2 separate regions of the Homo sapiens genome follow, and region 2 is linked to region 1. The links are contacts of gene promoters, found by promoter capture Hi-C in human tissues and cell types (Jung and others, 2019). All regions are on one chromosome and are shown on one strand. Each heading gives the region's core, a stretch centred on a gene start or on the middle of the fragment in contact. The rest is flanking DNA. Distances are from core to core; before and after follow the strand shown.

The links. The method cuts DNA at HindIII sites, captures the fragments that hold promoters and counts their contacts. A contact is called where the count stands out against the background at its distance.
Region 2: a contact is called between a fragment that was not itself captured here and the fragment with the promoter of IFT81 in region 1, in 1 of the 25 tissues and cell types used here (aorta).

Annotation. Positions count from the first base shown.
Region 1 is chr12:110,119,889-110,127,369 of GRCh38, forward strand. IFT81 (intraflagellar transport 81) reads left to right here and starts at 4,469. Exons shown (of 19, transcript NM_014055.4): 1 at 4,469-4,973; 2 at 7,472-7,481. RefSeq lists a silencer at 4,283-4,552. The HindIII fragment of the contact is 7,034 bases long and covers 2,580-7,481 here.
Region 2 is chr12:110,180,729-110,187,290 of GRCh38, forward strand. The region is part of intron 12 of IFT81 (intraflagellar transport 81); the gene reads left to right. Among named protein-coding and RNA genes, the nearest start is that of IFT81, 60 kb to the left of the region's middle. RefSeq lists a silencer at 5,433-5,633. The HindIII fragment of the contact is 3,163 bases long and covers 1-2,937 here.

The sequences.
Region 1 (7,481 bases), core at 3,219-5,718:
GGCAAAACCCCGTATCAACTAAAAATACAAAAAATTAGCCAGGCGTGGTGGCGCACACCTGTAGTCCCAGCTACTCAGGAGGCTGAGGCAGGAGAATCGCTTGAACTCGGGAGGTTTGAACCCAGGAGGCAGTGGTTGCAGTGAGCCAAGATCATGCCACCGCACTCCAGCCTGGGAGACAGAGGGAGACTCCACCTTAAAAAACAACAACAACAACAACAACAAACAAAAAAACAAAAACGGGAACGGGAATGATGTATTGATCCATGTTACTACATGGATGAATCTTAAAAACATTATATACTAAGCAAAAGAAGTCAGACACAAAAGATCACATTTTGTGTGATTTCATTTATATGAAATGTCCAGAAAAGGCCAGTCCATAGAGATGGAAAATAAATTAGTGGTTGCCTGGGGCTGTGAAGTGGGGAGATTTTCATTGTGAGGGTGATGGCTGAAGGGTACAGGGTTTCTTTTTGGTGTAATAAAAATGTCCTGGGATTAGATAGTGGTGATGATTGCATAACTTTGTGAATATGCTAAAAGCCATTGAATTGTACACCTTTTTTTTTTTTTTTTTTTTTTTGAGGCGGAGTCTCACTCTGTTTCCCAGGCTTGAGTGCAGTGATGTGATCTCGGCTCACTGCAACCTCTGCCTCCTGGGCTCAAGCGATTCTCCTGTCTCAGCTTCTTGAGTATCTGGGATTACAGATGCCCACCACCATGTCTGGCTAATTTTTTTTTTTTTTTTTTTTTGTATTTTCAGTAGAGACGGGATTTCCGCATATTGGCCAGGGTGGTCTCGAACTCCTGGCCTCAGGTGATCTGCCCGCCTCAGCCTCCCAAAGTGCTGGGATTACAGGCGTGAGCCACCATGCCCAGCCTGAATTGTACACTTTAAATGGGTGAATTGTATGTATGTGAATTATATCTTAATAGAGCTGTTTCAAAAAGAGAGTAAGGAAGGAGTGGGAAGCTTTCAGAAAGGCTGTCACATATGGCTGGAACTTCCCTCCCTCTATTAAAAATGTCAAATATAGTTCAGCCAAAAGGCATTGTTGGGAGCTTACAGAGAAGACTCAACATAGCATCTAAGGAGGAAAAAAAAAGGCTTCACGGGTAGCTCAGCTGGGAGGAGATCAGCAATGCCTCTGTTGTTGTGAAATTGTTGCTGACAATTCCCTCTTAGACTCTTCAACGAATCCACCCAAGGTTTTATGTTAAATGAATCAGGCGGCTGGGCGCGGTGGCTCACACCTGTAATCCCAGCACTTTAGGGAGGCTGAGACAGGAGAATTGCTTGAGCCCAGGAGGCGGAGGCTGCAGTGAGCCGAGATTGCGCCATTGCACTCCAGCCTGGGTGACAAAGTGAGACTCCATCTCCAAACACAAACACACACACACACACACACACACACACACACACACACACACACACACACAGAATCAGGGGGTGGTAGCCAATCTTCCTTTGGCCTCGGGGACCCAATATATGCAGTTCTCTTTTTTACTGTAAGTCGGAACATAAATTTTTCAATATACAGATTCCAGGAAGCATGCTGACTGGCTTCAAGTTCTTCCCCGTGTTCCAGAGCAACCATATTAAGCATAAAATCTATTCAAGTTTGAGTCCAAAGAGTGGATCCTCTTGCTTATTTGAATTTATACAGGATTGCAGTCTCATAACTGAAAGGTATAGTGTTTGTAGACCAGGGGCAACAGAGAGAGGAGGAACTAAAAGCTATTAGATAAACCACTCCTATCTAGGATTTCTATAGCCTATACCCATAAACCCTATAGAAGGTGCAAATCTAACCATCTTTTTTTTTTCTTTTTTCTTTTCTTTACTTTTTCTTTTTTCTTTTCTTTTCTTTTTTTTTTTTTTTTTGAGACAGAGTCTCACTCTGTTGCCCAGGCTGGAGTGCAATGGCGTGATCTTCGCTCACTGCAACCTCTGCCTCCCAAGTTCAAGTGATTCTCCTGCCTCAGCCTCCCACGTAGCTGGGATTACAGGCATGCACCACCGCACCCAGTTAATTTTTGTATTTTTGATAGAGATGAGGTTTCACCTTGTTGGCCAGGCTGGTCTTGAACTCCTGACCTCAAGTGATCGGCCCATCTCAGCCTCCCAAAGTGCTGGGATTACAGGCATGAGCCATTGTGTCTGGCAAACCATCTTATTTTTAAAGTTTTATTCAAAAAATTCTTTTACTTCTTTTTTTTTTCTTTTTTCTTTTCTTTTTTTAAAGATGGGGTCTCACTGTTGCTCAGGCTGGACTTGAACTCCTGGGCTAAGACTGTCCTCCCACCTCAGCCTCCCAAAGTGCTGAGATTACAGGCATGAGCCACCATGTACATGCCTCATTTTTTTAAAAAGAAAAAACATAAATGTCTTCAGTGCCTCCCAATGTTGGGCACTGTTGTAATCACTTTACCTGTATCAACTCCCTTAATCCTCATGTCAACCCTATTGAGGAAGGTTTTATTATAGCCACGTTTTACAGATGAGGAAAGTTTAGCAAGATAAAGAGAGGGTACACAATGGCAGATGCAGAATTCAAACCCAGGTAGCCAGGGATGTCTCCTAACACACCCAACAGGATCAATGAATTATATAATCCCTTCTACAAATCTTGTATTGTTTCTGTCAGTATTATGTAAGTTATTTAATTCTTTGAGGTTTTGAGTGTTGCTTCCCCTAATTGGTTGTGGGGTGGGGCCAGTTTTAGTTTCTCTCCAGGAGCCCTGCAGGGTACCTACGCTTGATATTTCAACAGTCAGAGGGCAGCCAACAAAGGGACTGGTCTTGGAATGTTGTGTTGCCTCTGCCCAAAACACTCTCCCTTTTCCTGTTTGGCTAATTTTTACTGATCCTTTTTAAGAGATGGGGGTCTCCTTCTGTTGCCCAGCCTGGAGTGCAATGGTGCCACCCCTGACCAATTTTTGCTTTTAATTTTTTGTAGAGAAAGGGTCTTGCTCTGTTACCCAGGCTGATCCTGAACTCCTGGGCTCAAAGTTATCTTGTTGCCTTGGTCTCTCAAAGTGCTGAGATTACAGGCGTGAGCCACGGTGCCAGGCCTAATTTTTACTGATCCTTAAACATCACTCCATTTGACAGAAACTTTCCTGATGGTATGGCCCCTTTGGCACCACCCTCCCCAAATAAACTTGAGGCCCTTAATCTGGGCTCCTAATCATTGGCTTCTCTTGTTACAGCATTTATCTCAATTGTATTGGTGTTGCCCCTTTAATAATCTCTGCCGGCACTAGACTGTCAGCTCCATCAGGGCAGGGGCCAGGTAAGTCCTGCCCTTCTGCATTTCCAGCAGCCTGTACAGTACAGGGCATATAGGAAATGCCTAATACGTAATCTGTTATTTTTTGTTGTGGTAAGTCTGATGCTAAAGCTATAGTTGGTTTCTCCTATGCTGTTTGAGCAGGCAACTAAGTTTTCAAGGTATCAATAATTTGATTTTTTTTCCTTCTCTTTCTTTCATTGCCAGCTGATATCACTAAGTATCGTGGTCTCTAGTCTAATAGAGGTTGGTTCAAAATACCATTTGCCAACTAAGGTCTCCCACAAACCAGCTAGTGCAAATTCCAGTAGACTTTTAAACCTCATCAGTGACTGGGCACAAAGATCTCCCTGCGTCCTGCGTGGGATGTGAACTCCATGAAGACCACAAGGAGGATTTAATTTATTTCTGCAGTCACCTAAAGAGAGCCCACTCAGAAGCCAAAGGAACATTAGGACACTTAGTTCTCCCACACCCCCTTTCAGGCTCTCAGCATACTCAAAACGTATTGGGTTTAAAAAAATTTAATTCCCAGTACAGGCAATGTGGCCCAGTAATGTGACACAGAAGCTGAAATCTCTATGATGAATGTGTCTTCTTTTAATCCTGCCAGAGCCTCACTACAATTGTTCCTATGCATAACCTAATTTGGAGATACTTATGTCAAAAACCTAAATTTGAAGCACTGGCCAAATGCTTGCTCATCCCAACCCCCCTACCACCCAGCCCTGCCTCAAAAACAAACAAAAATCATCACCCACGTTTGGCGCATGAATGCATGCATGCATGCATGAATGAATGAATGAATGAAACATCACACGCATTTAACATAGGTTAATCATGCAGAGAGTATTTTGTAAACTGCGAAGTGCAGGACTTTCGGGAAGCTTATTGTAGCGCGTCTAGGTCGGAGTAACAGTCCCAAATGCCCTCGGCTGTCTGCAGTGGCTCAGCACGTGGGCCCGCTTTGCAAGTAAGCCCGGCTCCCGTCCGCCCCGTCCGCCCCGCCCCGTCCCGCCCCGTCCCGTCCGCTCCGCCCCGCCCCGCCCCGTCCGCTCCGCCCCGCGCCCGTCCTCCCCGCCCTGGCCCGGCCCCGCCCCCCAGCTCGTGCGCGCGCGCGCGGGAGAGCGGCCGCTCGCCCGGAAGTGACGTAACTCTACGGCCTAGCAACCGTTGCCAAGGAGCTCGACTCTGGGAGCGGTCTAGAGCCCGGGCGCCTCCTGGGGGGTGGGGAAACGGTTTCGTGAGGAGAATTTGAGGTAACCTCGCCAACTCGCGGTCGGAAGCTCCTCTGAACCCCGAAATAGGAGAGAGCTCCCGTCCTCTCTCGGTCCTGATGCAGCACCTCGCAAGTGGAAGGGGTCGTCGCGGTTAAGCCCCCGGATAGGGGAATCGGGCCCCTTCTGGGATTCGAGCGGATCCAGGCCGCTCCCTGGAGGGATGAACTGTCGAGGGGCCCAGGGCAGCCCCCGCTAGAGGCCCGGTCGGGTGTGGGGTCCCCTGTCCCCTGTCCCGAGCCCGGGGAGGGGGACACTATTTCTGGTACTCCCAGGAGGCTGCGGGTCGATGCTCGTGCCAGCCTGGGACCCAGGCAGCACGGTTTCTCTCCCAAATTGTGCCAGAGAACACGCACGTCCTGGTTTTCATTGTTCCCCGCCTCCTGCGACTCGTTTGTGGGTGAGTGCTTGGGAATTAGCGCGGCGACTTCGCGCTAGAAGAGGGACAGTAATTGCTTTTGCTAATTTTAGAGCGCAGAGCCCGCTGGGCACAGACAGCCTTCCTGTTCAGTACATCTTTGTCCTTATCGAGTGACCATTTTTGCAGGCTGGTGGGCGACTTGGGGGGAACCCAACTGGTTTATTTTGCCTTCCTGGAAACGTTGTACTAGTTTATCCAGATTTTTTTTTAAGGGAAAAAAGAGTAGACCTATAGATAATTTCTAAATCATTTAAAATGAAATACATATTTCTGCACGCAAAGGTTATGACGTGGACTTTTACTTAAAATACTTTAAACAATGGAAAACTTGCACTTCCAATATGGATTTTAAAAAAAAACTTACGTAAAGGTTTTCCTTTTATAGCTTAAAGGAAACCTCAGATTTATTATAAGCCATGGTGGTTATCCTTCCTATCCTCTTTTGACTTATTTCTTAGCAATAATAATTATTTGTGCGTAATTTTTCATCATTGTGGAGAAATTATCTTTTTTATTTTATTTTTTCTGTTGAGACGGAGTCTCTCTCTGTCCCCCAGGCTGGAGTGCAGTGGCGCGATCTCGGCTCACTGCAACCTCCGCCTCCCGGGTTCAAGCAATTCTCCTGCCTCAGCCTCCCAAGTAGCTGGGACTACCGGCGCCCGCCACCACACCTGGCTAATTTTTGTATTTTTAGTAGAGACCGGGTTTCACCATGTTGGCCAGGCTGGCCTCGAACTCCTGACCTCAAGTGATCTGCCTGCCTCGGCCTCCCAAAGTACTGGGATTACAGGAGAGAACGACAGCTCCCGGCAGCAACTCATTGCTTAATTCATTTTTAATCCTTAAAGCATTTACCTAGGTAAAGCTGTTTCAGCAGTTAATAAATCAGATATTCAGTTTTTTAAAAAGTTATGATCTTTCTCACTGCCAGCCTGATTTCCTTTAGATTTAGGCTTATGTTGTACTTGTGCCTGTGAACAAGTTCATTCAATCTAGTGGAAGGAATCACTGTTTTAGACACAATGGATGTTCAAAAATGGAATTGGACACAGATACGGAATTTACAGTTTAGCAGGGAAGAGAAGATGCGTACCTAAAGAACTAGCACAAGATCGGCCAGGCGCGGTGGCTCACGCCTGTAATTCCAGCACTTTGGGAGGCCAAGGTGGGCGGATCACGAGGTCAGGAGATCCAGACCATCCTGGCTAACACGGTGAAACCCCGTCTCTACTAAAAATACAAAAAATTAGCCAGGCGTGCTGGCAGGCGCCTGTAGTCCCAGCTACTTGGGAGGCTGAGGGAGGAGAATGGCTTGAACCTGGGAGGCGGAGCTTGCAGTGAGCCAAGATCGCGCCACTGCACTCCAGCCTGGGCGACAGAGCGAGACTCCGTCTCAAAAAAAAAAAAAAAAAAAGCACAAGATCAAAAGTAGTGCTAGGAGAGAAGCACAGATAAAGTGTGGTCAGCTATGAAGGACAGGTGTTGGCACTGCTGCAGAACCTGGAGGATAGCTTGAGAAAGGTTTCCTGGGGGAGCTGGCGTTTGGTGGGCATGGCTTGAAAGATGGTTGGGGGGGTTTGTGCCTCTTGAGATGAAGGAGGGGTGCGCAGTCATTTTAGGCAGAGAAAGCAACATTAACTAAAGGCAGAGTGATAGAAAAACTAAGGAGCAGTGACTGTTTCAATAGGCTGAAGTTTGAAGGGGTAGAAAGATGACAATTTGGAAATAAAGTTGGAAAGGGATAAGTTGTGCCAGATCATAAAGAGTCTGGAAATCCAAGAAGTTTGAGCTGTATTTTGTGCGCAATAAGGAGCATACAGATGATTTGGAATGGGGAGAGGTGGAGACCAGAGAACAAGAGGCTGTGGCCTCATTGAAGGCCAAAGGAAATGAAGGCAGAGTGGATGCCTACCGGCCACACCAATAACAGAAATGGAAGAAGGGTACTTGAAGTGTGCAGCCTCTACTCAGATGCAGTTGGTTGTGGGCATGCACAAATGTGGGCCCACGGTTGCCAGATCTGATTTTCAAGAGAAACTGGAAATACAGATTTTAAAGTAAAAAATCTCTCAATGTTTTTTGGGAGATTTGGGAGAAACATCTGTTAGGCTTGCAGTCAGGCTCCTAAAATTTAGGAGCATGTTTAATTCCTGGGTAGAAATTATGCACCGGTATGGGAGAGATGTTAATGTAGGGAGGATTTATTATTCATTTGTCCACATTAACTCAGATGATTACTGTTACACCAGATGCATATACAAAGCATTTGATGTTAAAATTAACAGTATATACTGCAGTTTTCATAGTAAAGCCATTATACTTGGATTTCTTTCAACAAAATAACCCTTTTCACAGCATTTTGTATGCCATGTAAAATTATACTTTTCATGCCTACGTTGTATGAACTTAATTCTGGTTTTTACCCAGGACTTTTGTTGCCAGTATTAAGGATTTTTTTTTCTATTTTTACTCTTTAGTTAAAATTAT
Region 2 (6,562 bases), core at 106-2,605, 58 kb after region 1:
TTTTAATGTAGCAGTAAGCACTGGCTTTTGTGTGTGTGCTGACTTCGGGGTTATTAATAGAAAAACTTGAATTCCAAGTAGGTTTTTTCTTTTGGTTAGTTAGTTAATATGAGTAAAATTATCATACCAAGAGAGTGACTGTAAAATATTTTTTTATCATGGCCTGCTGGGCAGAAATTTCTAAGCAGCCACTTCCAAGAAGCTTTGGAAAGAAATATCCAGGGAAGTGCTGTGTGGAAGTCTGCCTCCAGGCTTATTCCTTATGTGTTTGTGCCTTGGTTGTCTGAAAAAAGTTAAACCCAAAGTAGTCCCACAGCAAAGTTGTTCTCATTGTGGATGCCAGTTCCTCAGGGTTTCCTTCATTTGGCTTTTTTTTTTCTTTCACCAACGAGGAAACTTTCATCTGGGTGCTGGTTTACCAGCTAGCAATAATCTGGTAGAAGTAAGTGGAATTTCAACCAGTTGTGTTTCCTTTTAACTGGCAATATGAACTGTCTCATGCTGATGAATATTATTTGCTTTTAGGGAACTTAAGACTGAAAATTTACTGTGAATCAACATGGATTCTAACAGCACTAACTTTAAAACTGATAGTAGTAACTGCATTATTGTTTACTTCAAAATATCTTCTAATTTCTATTGTGATTTCTTTGACCTTTTGGTCATGGCTTAAAATCCAATATTTGGGGGATTTTTCTAGTTACCTTTCTATTATGAATTTCCAGGTTATTTCCATTGTGACCAGAGAGCACACTCTGATTTCAGTCCTGTGAAATTTGTAGTCTTGCATTATGGCCCAGCATACGGTCTGTTTTGGTAATTGTTTCATGTGCAGTGAAGAGAATGTATATTCTGCAGTTGTTGGGAATAGTATTCTAAATATGTCAATTCAGTCAGTATGTTAGCCATGATATTCACATCTTCCATATCCCTGTTGATTTTTTGTCTGCCTGTTCCATCAGTTACTGAGAGAAGTGTGTTAAAAATCTCTAACTATAATTATGGCTTTGTTGCTTTTTTTAGTTCCATCAGTTTTTGCTTCATATTTTTTTCTTAAGTTGGGTCCCTAGAAGCAGAGCTCGAGAAGGGAATTCTTTGTGCTAGTGATTTATTGAGGGAGTACCTTCAGAAGGAGGGGAGTGAGGGAAGCAGATGAGGCAGCAGAAAAAAGCCAAGCAAGAAAAGGACATGGTCTCAACTGGAGCTGGCTTCATTCTGATCCCATGATCAACTTTGGAACAAATTGCACTGGAGTTGATTCCATCTTGATGCAAGGGGGCTGGCCTTTTGTACCCCATGGCAGTCAGTCATTTGGCTGTGGTCAAGTGTAACCTCTTAGGTGAGACACCTCCCATTTCGCTGAGGGCACTCTCTGGAGAAAGGGGTAACTATGAGCTATTTAGCAGTCAACATTCATAACAGTTTGCAAATGAGGTCTGAGTGGGGCACCAGCAACATCTACTACAGTTCACCCCTTGCACTAGTAGGATCTACTTGTTTGTCACATTAAATTTACTCCACCCAGCTATAGCTTCTATAGGATTCTAGTTGGTCGCAATTTCTAGGAAAACTTATAGGAGAAAGATTAGTGGGACAAATGGAAACTCTCATTGCTACATTTGGTTCCAAGGACATAACTGATATTCAACATCTCCTTCCTTTACTATCCATTCTAGAGTTCCCTCACCTCAGCTAGTACCTCCTCTGGTTTAGATGACTTACTTGGTGGGATGACCCAGTTCCTCATCCTTGAGAAGTGTGAGACTCTAGTAATCATGCCCTTACCAGGCCATGGCTGCTATACTTCCCCATTTACAGTTAAAACTGGGCATGGGAGTACCAAGATATGCCCTAATGGATCATCTGAGTCCTAAATATATTTCTTTCTGTCCCTGTTATATAGCAGCATCTATATAGCCTTATGATACCCTGCTTTCTTTGCCTGCTGATCTATTGACATGAGAAGCTCAAGTGACCAGATGGTAGTCAGAACATTAAGTGTCAAGGGCCTCTTAATGTGCCTTCTGATGGAAGCATGCCATCAGAATATCTCTGGCAACCAGAGTATCTATACCCACAGAGCCTACAGTTGTCTGGAAGGGAAGCATAATTCCCTAAAGTGGATCACTGGGGATCATGGTTCGTGGTGACACCTATACTTTCATCTCATGGTTCTGAGACCTATGCTTTCTATCGGGAACATAGCACCATATCATGGGCATCGGTTTAAGGTGTACACCCCATCCTAAAGGTAGAACTCATTTTCATAGGCCATCCAGTTCCAACTGGGGCCTTACGTTTAAGACACTGTTCCACTATTCTGTCAGGCCATCAGCTTTCCAGATAGTGTAGTATGTGGTAAAATTACTGAATTATATGGTCATACGAATGCTATCATACTTCCTTTGCTGTAAAGTGTGTCCCTTGGTTTGAGGTGATATTATGTGAGATTCCACATCAGTAGACTGAATGCTCTTAGCCCTTGGATAGTAGTGCTGGCTGAAGTACAATGGGCAAGAAAGGCAAACCTATACTCAGAATATGGATCAGTCCCATTAAGGATGAAATGTCACCTTTTTCAGGGCAGAAAGGGTCCGATGTTATTAAATTGCCACAAAATAGGGGGTTGGTTTCCTCAAGGGATGATTCCTTACCCAGAGCTCAGGAATGGTCTCTGTTGCTGGCAGGTCAGACGTTTGATATTGGCAGCAGCTAGATGAGCATTGATGAGAGAGAGCCCATGCTATTTGGCTCATACGTAACTTCCATCTCTACCAACAAAGCCATTCTGTTTGTGAGTCCATTGTTTAAGCACTGTGTGGGCCAATGTCAGAGGCTGGCTGACATCTGCTGGCCAAATCATCCTTTCCACTTGGTTGTTCAGTGCATCTTCTGCAGTGGACATTTTCCGGTTTCCATGTAATGAAAAGATCATTATACTTAGTGCCTACTCCCATAGGTTCAAACACATGCCTCTTTCCTAGACCTCCTTGTCCTTGCTGTCTTGCATCTTCCAGGGCCTTGACCAACAAGCTGAGCCATTTGCCACTGCCCAGAGGATACAGGATAATCTGGGGATTCAAGGTTCTCAAGTGGGTCTATCCAGATACCCCCATCCCAGACTCAGCACCCTTTTTCTTCTCTGTCAGGGCCCTGACTTTGGCATAGAATATTTGCCTAGACTAAGAATTCAACTTTCTCTGGAGTTTTGCCAGTCTTAAAATTAGTCCTGTGCCTGGTTTTCAGCTCCCTCTGCACTTTAGCCAGGGGAAATGAGAGTTTCTTTAAAGCCCTTAAGGAGGTTCTCTAACTTGATCACTTTGCTTTAAATTACAAATTAGGCTAGGCATGGTGGCTCACGCCTGTAATCCCAGCACTTTGGGAGGCCGAGGCGGGTGGATCACGAGGTCAGGAGATCGAGACCATCTTGGCTAACACGGTGAAACCCTGTATTTACTAAAAATGCAAAAAATTATCCGGGCGTGGTGGCGGGCACCTGTAGTCCCAGCCACTCGGGAGGCTGAGGCAGGAGAATGGCGTGAACCCCGGAGGCAGAGCTTGCAGTGAGCCGAGATCATGCCACTGGACTCCAGCCTGGGTGACAGAGCGAGACTCCATCTCAAAAAAAATAAATAAATAAATTACAAATTAATGGATTTGAGCCTGTTATTTTATCTCTTCAACCATCAGTGGAGTTTAGTGATAGCCACCCCAGTTCCATAGTCCTTATAGTTACTATTTCTCCTCAAATGCCAGAAACATTACACCGTCTAGTGCATCTTTGTATCAGTTCAGATCCTCCAAGAAGCAGACACTGAGATGGGATTACATGTACAAAAGATTTATTGAAGGACATACTTATGAAGGGTAAAGGGAAGGGAGCAGGAGGAGGCAGGGAAAGCCTTCAGGCTCTGATACAGGTCTGACACCTGTGAAAGGAAAGGGCAAAGGAAGATTGGGTAGAAATAGCCTCAAACTTCAACACAACTCTGAGAAAGTTTTGGTCAGGCTGATGGAGAGTTCCTGAGCCAGTCACCTATTAGAGGAGTCCCTTGTCAGGCAGGACTGGGCCAACACTAGTACTACTGCTGTACTCAGTCATTGGCTAAGAGCAGCTCCAGGGAAGCATAGCGTTGGTGCAAACATGATGATGGACCCAGAGGGGCAGCAGCTATGGATATCAGTCAGCTCTGTTCCTCTCAGCCAACTCTCTTGAAAGCAATCTGAGCCATAAATTTTGTTGGCCACCACAATCCCCATCCACCTGTATTCTTCCCCAATTCACCACAAGTGAAAGTCTTATTAATTGCACTGCTGCAACATGCCTGGGACTGTCAGTACTCTACCTGCCACAGTAATAGAGTCCTTAGTTCCATTTAGCCAGTGAGTGATTGCACTCTAGTGCTTATGCCAGAGATTATGATATACACCCTTGACTGATTACAGTCTTCACTAAATTTTTTTTTCTTTTTTTTGAGACAGAGTCTCTCTCTGTTGCCCAAGCTGGAGTGCAGTGGCACGATCTCAGCTCACAGCAACCTCCGCCCCCTAGGTTCAAGTGATTCTCCCGCCTCAGCCTCCCAAGTAGCTGGGACTACAGGAGTGTGCCACTATGCCCAACTATTTTTTTGTATTTTTTTTTTAGTAGAGACGGGGTTTCACCATGTTAGCCAGGATGGTCTCAATCTCCCGACCTCGTGATCTGCCCACCTCGGCCTCCCAAAGTGCTGGGATTACAGGTGTGAGCCACTGCACCCAGCCAGTCTTCACTAAATTTTTACTATTGCCGTGTCCTGGGCAATGCAAGAACCTAAAACACTTTAACTTTGTTTACCTCCTTCCCATATTTAGTGCTATTGTTGATAATATTTTTTTAATTCTAAATATAATTTTCTTGAGAAGGGGTCTTGTTCTGTTGCCCAGGCTGGAATGTAATGGTACAGTCAGAGCTCACTGCAGCCTCAACCTCCTGGGCTCAAGTGATTCTCCCAAGTACCTGGGACTACAGGCGTGCACTACCACACCCAGCTAATTTTTATGTGTATTTTTTTTTCAGACATGGGGTCTCACTATGTTGTCCAGGCTGGCCTCAAACTCAGGGGCTCAGGCAATCCTCCTACCTCAGCCTCCCAAAATGCTAGGATTACAGGTGTGAGCCACTGTGCTGGGGCCTAGATAGATTTAAATCGTACATGATATTATGTTCAATATTATTCTAGATTATCTACCTGTTTACTCTTTTCATGGTTCTTCTTTTCTTCCTTCATCATTGTTCTTCTATTGGTATCTGTCTAATGAGCTCACCTTAAGTATTTTATTTAGTTCAGGTCTGCTTAAATCTTCTCAGTTTTTGTTTTTCTTAAGACACCTGTATTTTACCTTCATTTTGAAGCACATTTTTACTGAATGTAGAATTTTTGGTTGGCAGCTATTTTCTTTCGGCACTTTAAAGATTTAATTCCATTGTCTTCTGACTTCCATTATTTATTTCATAACATCAACTGTACATCTTGTTTGTTTGTTTGTTTGTTTGTTTGTTTGTTTGTTTTAAGGTAGACTGTTATTCTCTGGTTTGTAAGATCTTCTATCTGTGTTTGGTTGTTCAGTGGTTTTACTATGACTTTTCTAGGTGTGATTTTCTTTTTTATTCACCTGGCTTAAGGTCTGTAAAGCTTCTTGAATATGTGGCTTTATGTCTTTGTTCATTTTTGAAAAGTTCTCAGCCAATGTTTATTTATTTATTATGTCTTTCTTTCCTTTCTTTCTTTCTTTTTTTATTTGTTTGTTTTTGTTTTGTTTTTTTGAGACAGGGTCTCACTCTGTTGCCCAGGCTGGAGTGCAGTGGTGTGATCTCGGCTCATTGCAGCCTCTACTTCCTGGGCTCAGGCGATTCTCCCACCTCAGCCTCCTAAGCAGCTGGGACCACAGGCCCGAGCCACCATGCTCAGCCATTTTGTGTGTGTGTGTATTTTTGGTAGTTTTTTTAGACACAGGGTTTTGCCATGATGCCCAGGCTGGTCTTGAACTCCTGGGTCCAAACGATCCACCTGCCTTGCCTCCCAAGGCTGGGCTTACAGGCATGAGCCACCACGCCCAGCCCAGTATTTCTTCAATTATTACTACAATCTCATTCTGTCCTCTTTTACTTTAACTCCAACTACATGCATGTTGGACATTTTCACCACTTTCCATGTATTTCTTATGGGCTTTGTGTTTTTCTTTTTCTTTTTTTCATTTTCTATTATTTTTTTCCTCTCTGTGATTCAATCTGTATTTTTTTCTACTGTGCTATTTTTCCAGTTGATTAATCTTCTTCTTTTTTGTGTGTCTAGTCTGTTATTTAATTCATTTGTTGAATTCTTAATATCAGTTATTGTATTTCTCAGTTTTAGAATTTCCATATGATTCAATTTTATAGATTGCAGTTATTTGTAACATTCTTCAACTTTTTGTTTATTTTCTTGAATATATTAATCTCAGCTATTTTAAAGTTCATGTCTGAAATTTATTTGAGCATCTATTCCTGTTGTTTTTGTTTTTGTTTTTGTTTTTTGAGACAGAG